Linked DNA regions of Homo sapiens: regions 1, 2, 3 and 4 are each linked to region 5. Evidence: promoter capture Hi-C in 16 types of primary human blood cells and fetal thymus (Javierre and others, 2016). All regions are on one chromosome and are shown on one strand. Each heading gives the region's core, a stretch centred on a gene start or on the middle of the fragment in contact. The rest is flanking DNA. Distances are from core to core; before and after follow the strand shown.

Evidence for each region. The method cuts DNA at HindIII sites, captures the fragments that hold promoters and counts their contacts. A CHiCAGO score of 5 or more calls a contact.
Region 1: a fragment that was not itself captured here is called in contact with the fragment with the promoter of FLJ46875 in region 5 in 1 of 17 cell types (total CD4 T cells); the score reaches 5.7 in total CD4 T cells.
Region 2: a fragment that was not itself captured here is called in contact with the fragment with the promoter of FLJ46875 in region 5 in 1 of 17 cell types (non-activated CD4 T cells); the score reaches 5.5 in non-activated CD4 T cells.
Region 3: a fragment that was not itself captured here is called in contact with the fragment with the promoter of FLJ46875 in region 5 in 2 of 17 cell types (total B cells and total CD8 T cells); the score reaches 9.7 in total B cells.
Region 4: a fragment that was not itself captured here is called in contact with the fragment with the promoter of FLJ46875 in region 5 in 4 of 17 cell types (non-activated CD4 T cells, activated CD4 T cells, total B cells and 1 more); the score reaches 9.6 in non-activated CD4 T cells.

What each region holds. Positions count from the first base shown.
Region 1 is chr2:159,714,211-159,716,910 of GRCh38, forward strand. It overlaps MARCHF7 (membrane associated ring-CH-type finger 7), which reads left to right. Exons shown (of 12, transcript NM_001282805.2): 2 at 347-388; 3 at 1,471-1,556. Among named protein-coding and RNA genes, the nearest start is that of MARCHF7, 3.1 kb to the left of the region's middle. The HindIII fragment of the contact is 916 bases long and covers 928-1,843 here.
Region 2 is chr2:161,134,478-161,137,177 of GRCh38, forward strand. All of the region lies in intron 2 of TANK-AS1 (TANK antisense RNA 1), which reads right to left. It also overlaps a transcript of TANK not described here. Among named protein-coding and RNA genes, the nearest start is that of TANK-AS1, 24 kb to the right of the region's middle. RefSeq lists an enhancer at 2,321-2,660. The HindIII fragment of the contact is 1,209 bases long and covers 831-2,039 here.
Region 3 is chr2:152,712,748-152,715,447 of GRCh38, forward strand. All of the region lies in intron 2 of PRPF40A (pre-mRNA processing factor 40A), which reads right to left. Among named protein-coding and RNA genes, the nearest start is that of PRPF40A, 3.4 kb to the right of the region's middle. The HindIII fragment of the contact is 1,843 bases long and covers 484-2,326 here.
Region 4 is chr2:151,825,866-151,828,565 of GRCh38, forward strand. ARL5A (ARF like GTPase 5A) reads right to left here and starts at 2,556. Exons shown (of 6, transcript NM_012097.4): 1 at 2,266-2,556. The coding sequence starts at 2,311. RefSeq lists silencers at 2,172-2,221, 2,272-2,700. The HindIII fragment of the contact is 507 bases long and covers 1,133-1,639 here.
Region 5 is chr2:156,340,665-156,343,374 of GRCh38, forward strand. FLJ46875 (a long non-coding RNA gene) reads right to left here and starts at 1,456. Exons shown (of 1, transcript NR_147695.1): 1 at 1-1,456. RefSeq lists enhancers at 361-916, 917-1,470, 2,678-2,710 and silencers at 1,018-1,117, 1,658-2,267. The HindIII fragment of the contact is 3,407 bases long and covers 761-2,710 here.

The DNA of each region.
Region 1 (2,700 bases), core at 136-2,635, 3.4 Mb after region 5:
AAAATAATTTTATAATGCAAAATCTGTCAAATATCTTAAAACTTTTTTAGATAATTTGTAATTTGTTGTAGTCAAATTACAAATTATGGAGAGCTTCACATTACAAGAATGAGCTTGACATGGCATCTGCCCTCCACAACTCACTGTTTAGTCATCAGACTAATGTATAAACAACTATTATTATCTTAATATGACTGTACAGTGGTTCTGTGGGAGCATAGGGGAGGGGTGCTTAATCTTGGAAATTTTACAGGATTTATTTATTTATTGCCTGAACTAAGATGTGAAGGCTCACTAGGACTTTGATAAAGAAACTGCAAAGTCATGATATTATGGTTTGTTTTAGGAATTCATGATTTGTTCCTGTAGCTGAAACATACATTGAATGGTAAGTTAGAGCCCGACATAAAAGACTTTCTGTACTGTACTAGAAAATTAGTGTCTGGGTGTGGTGGCTCACTCCTGTAATCCCGTCACTTTGGGAGGCCAAGGTGGGAGGATCGCTTAAGGCTGGGAGTTCAGCCAGGCCACAAAGACCCCATCTCTACGGGCATGGTGGTGCGGGTGTAGTGGTGCGCACTGCTACTACTAGCTACTTGGGCTGCTGAGGCAGAACGATCATTTTGAGCTCACGAGTTGCAGAGACTGCAGTGAGGTATGATAGAGCTCCACTGCACTCCAGCCTGCACCACAGAGTGAGACCCTGTCTCTAAAAAAATAAAAATAAAGTTAGTGCTCTATGCTGCGGAATGGAGAGCTATTGTGTTCCTTAACAAAATAAAAATAATTTTTAGATAATCTTTGCTGATACATCCTTCTGTTACCACAGATAATTAAGTGCCAGTAATAAAGAACAATGGGACATGAATGAATGAAATGCACAGCGTTGCATTAGACTTTACTTTTAAACAACAAATTAACTAATGAAGCTTTTAACTGTTAAATAAGTGAATCAACTGATCACATTAGAATGATTACAATTTAAAAAGAATCGGATTTTGAGTTCCTACTAAGATTACTTGAATTCACCAAAGCAGAATTCAATTGCAGTCAAAAAATTTATCTTAATATACAGCATTTGCTAATCATAGGATGAGCCAAAAAGTCTGAAGTTGGGGAGAATGAAATTATAATTTGAGAGTTTAGGTGGGGGGGGTAATAATTTTGTGTGTGTGAGTGTGTGACAGGGTCTCACTCTGTTTTTTAGGCTGCTGCAGCCGCAGTCTCCCAGACTCAAGCAGTTCTCCCACCTCAGCTTCCTGGGTAGCTGGGACTACAGGTGCGCGCCACCATGTCTGACTAATTTTTATATTTTTTTATAGAGACAGTTTCACCATGTTTCCCAGGCTGGTCTCCAACTCCTTAGCTCAAGGAATCCTCCCACCTCAGCCTCCCAAAGCGCTGTGATTACAGGCCTGAGTGTGAGTCACTGCATGCTGGGGTTTAATTTTCATTAATCTTAATTTTCAGCTTTCTGCCCTGGCATGAACTTACATGGTCAGAGCTGGTTTTTCCTGCCCTCAAATATATTTCTCTGACTCTACCGGTTAGACTAGGTAAGTTGAACACCTGGTTTTAAAATCACCTGCTGCTCTACACCCATTTTTGTCAACAGCTTAAAAAGAAGGCAAGTTTTGAACCTTAAAAGTAGTTATCTTTCCATTATGATCATTGTTCATTAGTGTGATGTTTCATACTTTGTAGAAAGAACCCTAAAATGGTTTCTACTTAAGATCGAAACTTGATGCTTAGAGATTAAATTCATTTCAAGGAGAACAGTTTGCCTTTTACAGTGGTGTAGTGTAGACTTAACATCATAGTCATATTTTCTCATGGGATGTTAAGCTTTTTTCTAATTTTTTAAGATTTGGGCATGTCATATTTTTGTGTTTTAAGTATTTGTCAGCTAAAAGTTAGTTAAGGGAGACTTTTTTTTAAGGCCCAAAATGTTGTATACTTTCAAAGTGATTCCCTCATTGACCCACCCTTAGCTTCCATGTCTCCATGTTTACTATGATTTCCCACTAAGGAAAAAAAAAATTTCCCCAGAAGCAGATTTTTTTTTTTAAGAAAAGGATATGCAAAGTATATGTAAATAATGAAATAGTAACTGCGTGTTTGTATTTCTGCAAGACTCTTGAAATATTGCATTGGGGCTGGGCATGGTGGCTCACTCCTGTAATCCCAGCGCTTTGGGAGGCCGAGACAGGCAGATTGCTTGAGCTCAGGAGTTCAAGACCATCCTGGGCAACATGATGAAACCCCGTCTCTACTAAAAAAAATACAACAATTAGCTGGGTATGGTGGTGCGTGCCTGTAGTCCAGGCTACTCAGGAGGCTGAGGTGGGAGGATCACTTGAACCCAGGAGGTCGAGGCTGCAGTGATTGCACCACTGCACTCTGGCCTGGGCAGCAGAGTGAGACCCTGTCTCCAAAAAAAAAAATGATAGATTACATTGGTATTTTGTGTGATTGCTCTGGCCTTTGTGCCATGAGTTTATCCTATAGTAGTGGTGTACTTTTAGTAATTCAGTACCTGTAATCTTCCCTGGATATTTAAGATAGTTCCCAGGTTAGACTCAGTTAAAATCAGAGTTTTCAGAGACTGCAGGCATAAGATAATGGTATGGTAACAGTAGAAAATAAGGATAAGTAATGAATCTTTGTTCTATGGCTGCATAACAAACCACCTCGGGACCT
Region 2 (2,700 bases), core at 185-2,684, 4.8 Mb after region 5:
GAGGCTGGGGTGGTCGTGGAAAAAGAGCATCTATCATCCCTGCAGGTCTCAATTCCCCTTAGCATCAGCCCTGCTGTGGCCACAGGCCAATAAAATCCTGAAGCATCAGCCCACCAGCAAGTAGAGCCTGGAAAACATGCTGTTTTCACAAATACTGTGCCTAGAGCATGAATTCGTCCTGTAGGTGTCCATGTGATCATCTGAACCAAGTTTCTCAATCAAACACCCACCCCATGCAGCCTGGCTACCTAACTAGCTACTTGGCCAGAGTCGCAGGCACCTGGGTCTCCCTCCGAAGGAGGGAACCTATTTCTAAATCCTAGTTAGCAATTAAGAGACCTGGCTTTCTTGCTCTCCACTTTCACTAAAAAAAAAATTTCCAGGATTCTTCTTAGGGAGGCCTTTCGACCAGACCTGCCCTGAGAATCCTGCTGCCCCCGGGCAGTGATGTCCGCATTCTTTGACTAGTAACTCCCCTCAGCCATTCTTCTCTCCCTGAATAGGAACCTGAGTTTTGCCTCCCACCCTCTAACTTGGGCTTGGAGCTGCTCATCCCACTCCTGCCCTGGTCATTATACCCTAACCCTTGCCAATCCTGGCTTAGTACCAGTTTGCTTCCTCCTCTGAAGGAATTTCTGCATTTTTGTCAGCCCTAGTCACTTGATTTACGACTCCAAGAGAAGGAAAAAGGTGGGGAGTAGGGAAATAGGAAAAGGAACTACTAGAGACGACAAAAATTAAAACTTCCATCTGCCTCACATATTTTGCCTAGTCTAGAACTGGTTAGTGGCATAGGTTTTAAATTTCATGTACTCAGAATTTCTTCAAAAAGCTTCTCTAACTGTAGCTTCTCTGTTTTGGCTGTAGGACCCTCTCTCAAACAATGCCCCACCAGATTGAGGCCAGCATACCCTGGAGTAGCCAGTTCTGCAGGATCCTGGGTGTCAGCCAAGCTCAAATGCCAAAGTAAATAGAGGAGGGAGGGGGCACAGGATGAAGAGACCAAAGAAAGGGGCATTTCCCAGTCTAGACAGGAGCGCTGCTTTTTTTAAAAGCTGTGTTTTTAAAACTCTGCTCATTCAAAACTGTAAATTCTTAAGAAGTAAGTTTTCCTTTCACTAGTGGCTATCTCACTTTTTTGTTGGTTTGTTTTGCTATATTTACAGCACGGGATAGGTTGGTTTTATTTTTCCATTGCACACAATAGCATTTAATATTTAGCATTTCATCAGTAAGATAGTTATAAAACCCATAGTTCCAAAAGAAATGTAATGCTTCATTGTATGTTAGATGAGTACGTAGAAGCCTTTAATCATAAGTTTATTCAGCATTTTAGATACTTTTGAAATTATTTTTTATAGAATAATTTCATCATAAGTAGCAATATCTCAGATTTATTTAACATATAATTTAAGAGAGGGCAGTGTTTCAAAGTGGAAAACAAACTAGACTAAGAATCAGAAGTTCTAAATTCTAGACCTTTTAATAACTGTTGAAGTTTAGGTAAAGCCTCAGACTTCTCATCTGTAAAATGCAGGAGCTGAAAAAGGAGACTGCTTAATTCAGTTTTTATCCAGCTCAGTAACTTTATATGCCAAGAGTGTAGTGCAGTAAAAAAAAGAAATGCACTTGGATTCAAAAGACTCACATTTTAATCTAAGCGCTGCTTCTAACTTTACTTGTGACATTGAGCATTTACCTTCTCCTGTTTCCCTCATCTGTAATAAAAAGGAAATGGAACAGATGTTGTCTAAGGACATTTCCAGCTCTAAAATTTTATATCAAAGAAAAATGTCTGTGGTGCACATGCTGTCTTCCGTTTGCATGTAAAATGTGATGTTTTGCTCTAAGCAACCTAAGAGAAATACATGTATTTGTAAAGCATTTCCCGAGTTTGCTGGAACACACTTTTATCCCACGAACAGTGAACCTTAAGTTCTCAAGGCAGAAAAGCTGTCTTAAGAGCCTTGTTTGCTTCACCTCTCTTCTGAGTACCTAAGCTCAGGCTCTGCAATTGAGCTTAAACCTTATTACTACAAAGCTTCTTCCAAGTGACTTCTGTAGGCCATAAAGACAACTATAATCAAATTTGGTTTTTACCTCCTGTTTATAAACATGCTTCTTAGGTCAAAAAGCGACTTCTTAAAGGTTAAAAAGCCACTTATCAAATAAACTGAACTTTTAAATTTTCTTACATAAAATGCTTAATCCAAAAGTATTTTTGTGTTTACAATTCCTGGGGTTTTTGTTGTTGTTGTTGTTGTTAAAATGCCTTAACTATTCACATAAAGTATCTTGCTTCAAAAGGAAGTCAGAGCTACAGTCACGAGTGGTTTACAGAATATTTTCTGATAGTCTTTGCTTCATTTCAGTATCGTGCCATGATTGGCTGTTGCTAGCTACAAATAAGGAAGTCTTCAAGTTGGGGGATTTCTCAGTGGAAGTTCCCACTTCAACATAAGGGAGAGCTCTGGACAGTTTGAGCAGCATTGTTAGAGCCTGTGGAAAACACTTTACAACTGTGTAACTGTCTTCATCTTTACAGAGGAATAGTCTACAAAGGAAGACTTGTAACCTGGAGAAGAGGTAATCTAATTTCAATAGTTCCTACTGATTCTTAACCTAGGAAAGGGGCCTGGATGTCTTAAACTGAAGTGTTGCAGATGTGTTACCCTCTTACTCTTGCTATGTGAGTAATTT
Region 3 (2,700 bases), core at 155-2,654, 3.6 Mb before region 5:
CAGGACCTGCATGTCCTTTGTGTAGAAAACACAAAAGACATGAAAACAGTATTTACTATGGACACTGAGGAAGAAGACAGCCTCACACATAATTTTATTGATAGAAATCTCTACAGAAAATCTTTATTTTTTTGAGATAGGGTCTCACTTTGTCACCCAGGATGGAGTGCAAGGCGTGATCTTGACTCACTGCAGCCTCGACCTCCCAGGTTCAAGCAATCCTTCTGCCTCAGCCCCCTAAGTAGCTGGGACGACAGACGCACACCACCACACCCAGCTTATTTTTAAATAGTTTTTGTAGAGATGGGGTTTCACCATGTTGCCCAGGCTGGTCTCCAACTCCTGAGCTCAAGCGATGCACCCGCCTCAGCCTCCCAATGGGAAATTTTTGAGTACTGCCATCCAGCAGGGAAAATTCTTTATCTTTCTTTACTAACATTTAACCAGTGATCCTCAAAGCATCTTAAATCACATATTATTTAAAGCTTAAACAACCTGTAAGGTCCCTTTCAGCTATAAGATCCTATAACTCTAAAAGTATGACTTTCCTATAAAGTTATATAGAATAAGAGGCAAATTTAATCTACAAGATAGAAAACTGAAATAAACCTGAAAGAATATTAAGCTCAATTTGATAATCATCAAATATTTATTACTACTAAGAGTCAGCCTAAATGCATGAGATGGCACTCTAGGTCATCTCATGAATTAAGAAAAAAAAAATTTGAACACACCACTTCTTTAAGCTAAATAGCTTGATGCATTTGAGAAATTATGAACCCTGGCTTCCGTACATCATTATGCTACCCAGTCTGCATATTATTTTACAAACAAGTTTTACAGTTTCATGTCATATTGGTAACATTCCAAAGACCACAATTATTTGGCAAGTAAGACTGCCACCAATTTTAGTCTTTAGCTAGTCCCAGCATGAGATGTTCATGCAAACCAGTCAACACATGAAGGTTTTTATAACCTTCAGTCCCAAAGTCTAAAGAATTTGTGAACTGACTTTTTTAAATTGCATGGCAGAACCCTCCCAACTGTCACTACTGTGAATGATACAGACAGACATCCTGCTTCTTCTCAATTATCTTCTGACCACTTATTCCTCCTGAGTACTTCCAAGAGTGGCAGAAGAAATAATGCAGGAAAAAGGATCAATTGTCCTATTTATTATCACCTTTAATTTTTAAAGCAATGTTTACAGAGTTTCAAATATGATTTCTGATTTGAGAATTCAAATTATCCATGCTCTCCCAGTCTGTTATAAAGCTAAAACAAGAATTTGTTTTACCAAGATTTGGGACCCATATTTGTTAGTGAAATATTAAGGGGATAAAAGGGAATTATATAATTCTGACAAAAACAGCGGAGATTCTTTTGGGACTTTCAGGGCATAACTCCTACTAAAACATTTATTTATTATACTAACAGGAGCCTTCAGAGGGAGAAGAATTCTAAACATCTAAATAATTAGGTCTACTTAAAGGCACGTGGCATATATTAGCCTAGGAAAAAGTAGAAGAAAACCACACCAAAAAAATCAGTTATTTGAATGGATGTGTACCGAGTAGCAAGTAAACTTACTAGAAAGATGGTCACTGATACAGCTAAAGAGAAAGGGCCATAAAGCAAACTGTGACCAGCTTATGTCAATGAGATACATGAAAGTACTTTTAAAAAATAAAATCTGCATTTTTTTTTTTAACTAGAACTATGACTAGCTGGTATCTTGGTTTTGGTAGTGCAATAGCACCATTACAGCAAGGGTAAGCAGGTCAATCCCTTGCAAAACTTACCTTGATTGGCCCAATGGAAACAGAAGGCCCCAGAAAAGAGAGAAGCATCTGGCAGTAGCAAATTGTTTTATTTTATCTTTCTGTGGAAAGAAACTAATTTTAAATAAGAACCAGAGCATTTAAAGAATAAATATTTTTAAAGCTCATTATCTAGTTAGAGCAGCTCTACCAAGAAAACAAGAAGAGCTCCTTGCTCCTTAGAGATGGAAAGAAACAGAAGAGGAATCAAAGTTGTTTCTCCATCACCTAGAGAGTTTTAAAATTTGTGTTATTCTAGAGTAACAGAATAAAAGGCTCTTTTATTTAAAGAACTCCTGCAAGCAGAATCTTTTGGGGCTGGTGCCTTTGAATAAAGGTTTTGTTTTGTTTTTTAACAAAATTAAGGGCAATATTCCAAATTAAAAAAAAAAAGAGGAAAATCACTGGACATTAAGCCCTTCTACTCTTAAGGTTAAGTAAAAAGAGACAGACACATAGCAAGCTCCTTTTCCCACTGCAATTTCACCAATAACTTTAACCATGAAAGCTTAAACAATTATCAAACAGTACTAATTAGCAAAAGATCACATGAAATTGGCTTCCAAAATATTTTGTTAGCCTAAATTTTTGATGATTTATGGAAATACTCAAATGGAAATAACCCAGCCACCTAAAGATCTATTATAGAACTTAACATGAAGCACAAAATTACTCATGGTAACTGAACCTGTTACCTTTCTTGGATGCTTCTCTAGAAACTCAGTTCTACCGAAATCACTGAATCAGCATTAAAACCTTTTGATCCAAATCACTCCTACAAAATGTCCATTTACAATTTATGCTAGAGATGGAAGGGACAGCTCATAAGCAGGAGTGTAGAAGCAACAAGCATTAAAAAAAAATAGTATAAGTGGAAAAT
Region 4 (2,700 bases), core at 136-2,635, 4.5 Mb before region 5:
TGTAATCCCAGCACTTTGGGAGCCCAAGGCGGGTGGATCACGAAGTCAAGAGATGGTGACCATTCTGGCCAACGTGGTGAAACCCCATCTCTACAAAAAATACAAAAATTAGCTGGGTGTGGTGGCACGCACCTGTAGTCCAGCCACTCGGGAGGCTGAGGCAGGAGAATCGCTTGAACCCAGGAGGCACAGGTTGCAGTGGGCCAAGATCACACCACTGCACTCCAGCCTGGTGACAGAGCAAGACTCCATCTCAAAAAAACAAAAACAAAAACAAAACCCAACAAATATCTGGCATTAGATTAAATGGTGGATATTCGGAAAAGTGACCCTATTGATAAGACAGCCACACTGTTTAGCAGAAAATAAATAATTTATTCACACTTTCACAATATTCATATCTAATTTTCTAGAACTTAACTTCATTAATTTCTCTATTAATTTCCGCCAAACTGCCATAAATGTCCCGTCAAAAATTACCACAAAATACAGGTTATAAAAACACTACTATTAGCAATTTGTAGTGATACCAGAGCACACACCCTTATTATTTACTACTCCAAGGAGCTGTTGGCAAAGTTCTCATTTATTCTTAACTTACAGAAACAAATAATTTTATCATTGACTCAAAATAGAAAGTGGTGATAACTCTTTTTCTGGCAGCACTAGAGCTCAATTCACAGTCTTGCTAAACCTCACAGCAGATGAAACACTAGCTTTGCTAAAAATAATACAAAATGATGGATGTTAAAACTAGAATAGATCTTATCTACTATAAGTACCATCAGTCTTACAGCAATGTACGTTTTAATATTTGCAATGTAGAAATAAAGTTTACAAGATTTGGAAGCTCCACAGATCCCTGGTGTTCTAGGTGAGAAAACCTAGACCAGAAAACCTGAGAGTTCAAGTGACTGCTTCCCACTCTCCTGCTCCCAACACTAACAGCCAGTCCAGTCAGAGACAGTGCTGATTAGAACTGATTTTCTCTACTTTATGAAAAATCCTCTTATCAGAAAAATTGATACTGCCCTTTCTTTCGGTATCACGTGACCTACACATCTGTGTGTGTGTGTGTGTGCGTAAAAGATACATTAGGGATCACAAGTTCTAGTTCTGCTTGCTTCCCCTAAGCTTCTTAAAAGAGCAGCTAGATCATGAAGGAGGAGGTGGTAGTAGTAGGTGTACATAATAGATGCCACCATTCACGTAAGTCTTTATTGGAAAACTGGGACGTGACACCATCAGCTTACACAACAGAAAAACACAAACTAAGTTCCTGACAGCGGAATGATGAACCACCCAACTTGAGTTAAAAAGAAACAAAAGTACACCACTGTATCTTAATAAGTATCCAGTCTTTGGGTTAAAATTGTATTCTCTTTCCCCAGTTTTAGTCATTTTGTAACAAATTTTAACAAGCCTGATAGGTATTTCATGGCCATGTCTGAAGTTGGCTGAACTTAAGCATCCCTATATAACACACTTTACACTTAGTAACTTGCTAGTTACCTATGGTTAACAAATGTTTCATATGGTATGTTTTTAAAACTTTCAGTGAAACACTTTAACATTTTTAACCCAGCAAAACAAACAAAAACTGTGTCTAATAACCCACACGAGTAGAAAAATGACCTTAAGCTTAACCTTAAACACAGATATAATAAGTAAAACAAATGGAGAGAAGTCCATCTCTATTCAGGAGGCAGAAGAACCCCCCCTGCCCCCAACACACACAAAGACGGGTGGCAGTGGAGGGCAGGCTCATAAACCAGAGGTGTAATGGACAAGTCGAGCGATTCCTCCCGTTTTCCGCATTCTGCAACCCTCGGTCGCTCAGTGGTGCGGTTAGGGCAGCAATCTATAACCTTCATTCCAGAAGACCCCAGCACTTCTATGTGGTGTCCAAACACAACTGGTGAGCAAAGAAAGGGCTGAAAGACAGGCCAGGCCGTGCTACTCAGGGACGTCGGACCTAGGGCAAGAAACCTTTACCACTCTCATTCGAAATCGGAGCAATGGGTCTATTACGGAAAAGACTTCTTAGGAAGGTCTCCTAAGACAAAGGGCTGCGAGTCAGGAACCATCCCCAAGCTCGGGAGCCGGGACCGAACCGTCCCGGGCCCGTATCCGCGCAGCCTGCACCCCGCGCTGAGCTGGCGCCCGACCGAGCCGCCCACATTCCGAAGTATTCGGAGACCCCCACCTAGCCGGCCCGAGCTGACCCTCTCCCCAACCCGTACGCCCGCGGACCGAGCTCCTCACCCTGGTGATTGAACAGTCTCCATATTCTAGTGAAGAGAATTCCCATTCTCGGGCAGCGGACCCCCCCCCTCCAGACACCCGGGCCGCCTGGCTTCCCCCGGCTCAGGCTGAGGGGGAGGAGAGAGACGCGCTGGAGCCTCCGCCTCTGCTGCTGCTCCCGCGCTGGTCGCGGGCCCGCTTCCAGGGAACCGGAGGGAGGCCGAAGCCCAGGCCGCCCTGCCGCGCGCAAGGCCCCGCCGCTGCCGCCGCGGCACTCGCCTGGCTCGCGGACATCGCCGCCGCGTTGTCTGCGACGAGCCTCGCGGGCCACCGTCCTCCCCCAGCTCCTCTCGGGCGGCTGCGGTGGCGACGACCACGCGGGCGGGGGAAGTGAAGGGGCGGGCCTGGAGGGACGTGAGTGCGCAGGCGCGCGGCCAGAGGGGCGGAGCGTAGGAA
Region 5 (2,710 bases), core at 206-2,705:
TTCTGTAATTTCCAAAGTGTAGGAATGGTTGAAGTTTGAAAATAAATGGAGAATTTCAAATAGTTAATGAATAGATTTAGGAGCTATACTGAAACAACTAGCAGAAAATACATTTTCTGGAGTTCTTTAATTTTGTACGCTTAAAAGTATGGTGTTCCTAAAGATGGCTAATTCTTGTTGAAGTAAGTAGCTCTGGAAGTCATATTTTCCATTTCTCCATACTTCATCTATTAATCAGTTGACTGGCAATTTCCGACACCAGTTTTGCTAAACTTTATAAATTTTGCTTCCTCCAGAGGTAGGAGGGGGAAGGAGATGGGCAATACAGAAACAGATTTTACAGCCAGAATATGACAGGGCCCCTTAAACTACAAATAGATGTAGAATTTTAAATGTAGCTCTGTAGTTCAATTTATACCACAGAAATTGCGAGATGCTATCTTCCTGTTGTTATAACGTATCAGGTCAAGGGATATAAATTGTACCAGGTAATTCATTTTGCTGTTCAGAGAGTCATTAAGTTCCTCCCAGAATATATGTGATTGATATCCCTGGAGGTGAAAGGCTAAAGGAACCATATGGCAACATGTTGCATTCCGTATGCTATCTGCCCATCCGTGCTTAAGCTGTCATTAGCAACATCTGTACCTTACGGAAATCCAGCTGCGCCGACGACGGCTGACGGAATTGTACTTGGGGGGAAAATCTAGCTTAGCGCCATTAACTTGAGACTTAGAGTCTATCTACCAGGACGGATGGAAGCTTTCACAATTAGACGAGACGACACGAATGCTTTATTAAAGTTTAATTTTGAACTCCCAATTAGCGAAAGTGCATTACAAATCGATTGCAATTTCCTAGAAGGTGCAGCAAGTTCTCTGCCTGCCTGCCACGTGCGAGACGCTCCACAGCGAGCTTCCCCAGCTCCGGGCAGCAGAAAGGGGATGGTTCAGAGCCGATCTCCGCATCCCAGGAAGTCCCTAAAATCCGCGCCAGCCCCTCCTCCCGCAGGGCGGGGGCGTCCACGGCGCGAACCCGCCAGAGGTGTAGGGGGAAGTGTGGGGGGCTGGTCCGCAGCCTTCGAGGGGTGGGGCGACAGGAGCGAGCGGCCGGGGGAGGAGAAAAAGGCGGGCGGCGGGAGAGGGGGCCTCTATTATCTCGGCTTCTCGGGAGGAGCCTCATCTAGTCAGTCACGCAGAAGTTTCTCTTTCGCTCTTCGCGCTACACACCCAGATTGGCTTCCAGCGCGCAGGCGAGTGGGGCGAAGGAGGGGGGACAGGAGTCCCGGAAGGGCCGTCCGGCGTTCACACCCACCCCTGTTCCGCTCCTCCCGCCCCAAACAAAGTCCCCCGACTCTAGGTCCAGGATACGTTACCTGCCCGGCGCTCCCGGCCCCTCGGTCACCGCATCCCCCGCTGGGCGCGCCTGGTACGGGTCCCGCTCCCCGGGGCTCACAAAGTGGTCGCCCCTGGCTGGGCGGCTGGGTAGATGCCCCTCTCTGGACATGTTGGGGCGGTTTTTGGGGTGGAGGGAACGCGGGAAGTGAAAGCGGAGGCTGGGACAAGGGGAACTTACTGATAAAATGGAAAAAAAAAAAGCCCACAGGGCCCAGGTCCTGGCCGGGGGCGAAAGAGGCCTGTTACCTTTCGGGGGGTCGCGGCCGACCAAGAAGGGAGCCGGGGAGTCGCCCGCCCCCCTCCCCCGGCCCCCGGCCCCCGGCCCCCGGCGGCTGCGGCAGCTGCACACAGAAGCCCATTGTCGCCGGCGTCCGGCGCGCAGCCCCGCGGACTCGGCCCCGCGGCCAAGCGCGTCAGCGGCCCCGTCAGCCGGGCCGGGCTCCGTGACGCGCGCGCAGCCCGCGCTATAAATAACCTGCCGCCGGGCGGCTCGGGCGGCTTTCCAGTGACGCTGGGGCGGAGGCGCGGTAGGAGGAGGGCGAAAGGAAACAATAAAACCGCCCGGCAGCCTCCCAAGTCTCCCTCCTCCCTTCCCAGGCCGCCCGCGGCCCTTCGCGTCGAGCTCCTTTTTCCCCGCCCCGGCCCGCCCTGCGGGGAGCGCGGTTCGCGGGTGGGAAGGAGCCCGGCGTGCTGGCGTCCCCGAGTGCTGCCGGGGCCCCGGGGCGGGAGGGGGTTTTTCCCGCACCCTGGGATGGCGAGGAGGGAACTTGGCGACAAGTTTAGTGAGGGGATCGCTGTGTTCCTTTCTAGTCCAGTTAAAATGACCCGAGCTTTTCCCGCTCCCTCACACACCTATTCTAGTACAGGTCGGATGTGTTTTTGGGGTAGTAAGTCCTCAACCGAAAACAAAAGCGAAAAACCTGTCGTCTTCAACGTAAGCATTATCTAGGTTTTTGTGGGGCCAGGCTTGCATTAGTGTTTTCATTCGGGGGGTTGTATTATAGAAAGGGTGCCCCGTAGTAGCAGCGTGAGGAAGGGTTCCAGGACCCAGGCTGTCAGCTCCGGTGCATTTACAGGTCTTTTTGCCGTAGAATTTAGCATAGGCCTGAAACATGGCATAAATGAACTTTCTAAAAGTCTATAATCTCAACGTTAAAGAGCTTACTTTTTAACTCTGGACTTTAATAAAGGCTCCCACTTTAAAAGGGGCTTTCTCTATAGGAAAGTATTAATATTTTTGTGGAGACTCTCACTGCTACCTTCCATACTCAGGCAATTCTGTCACACACCCTGACACTTGTCCTACTCATTAA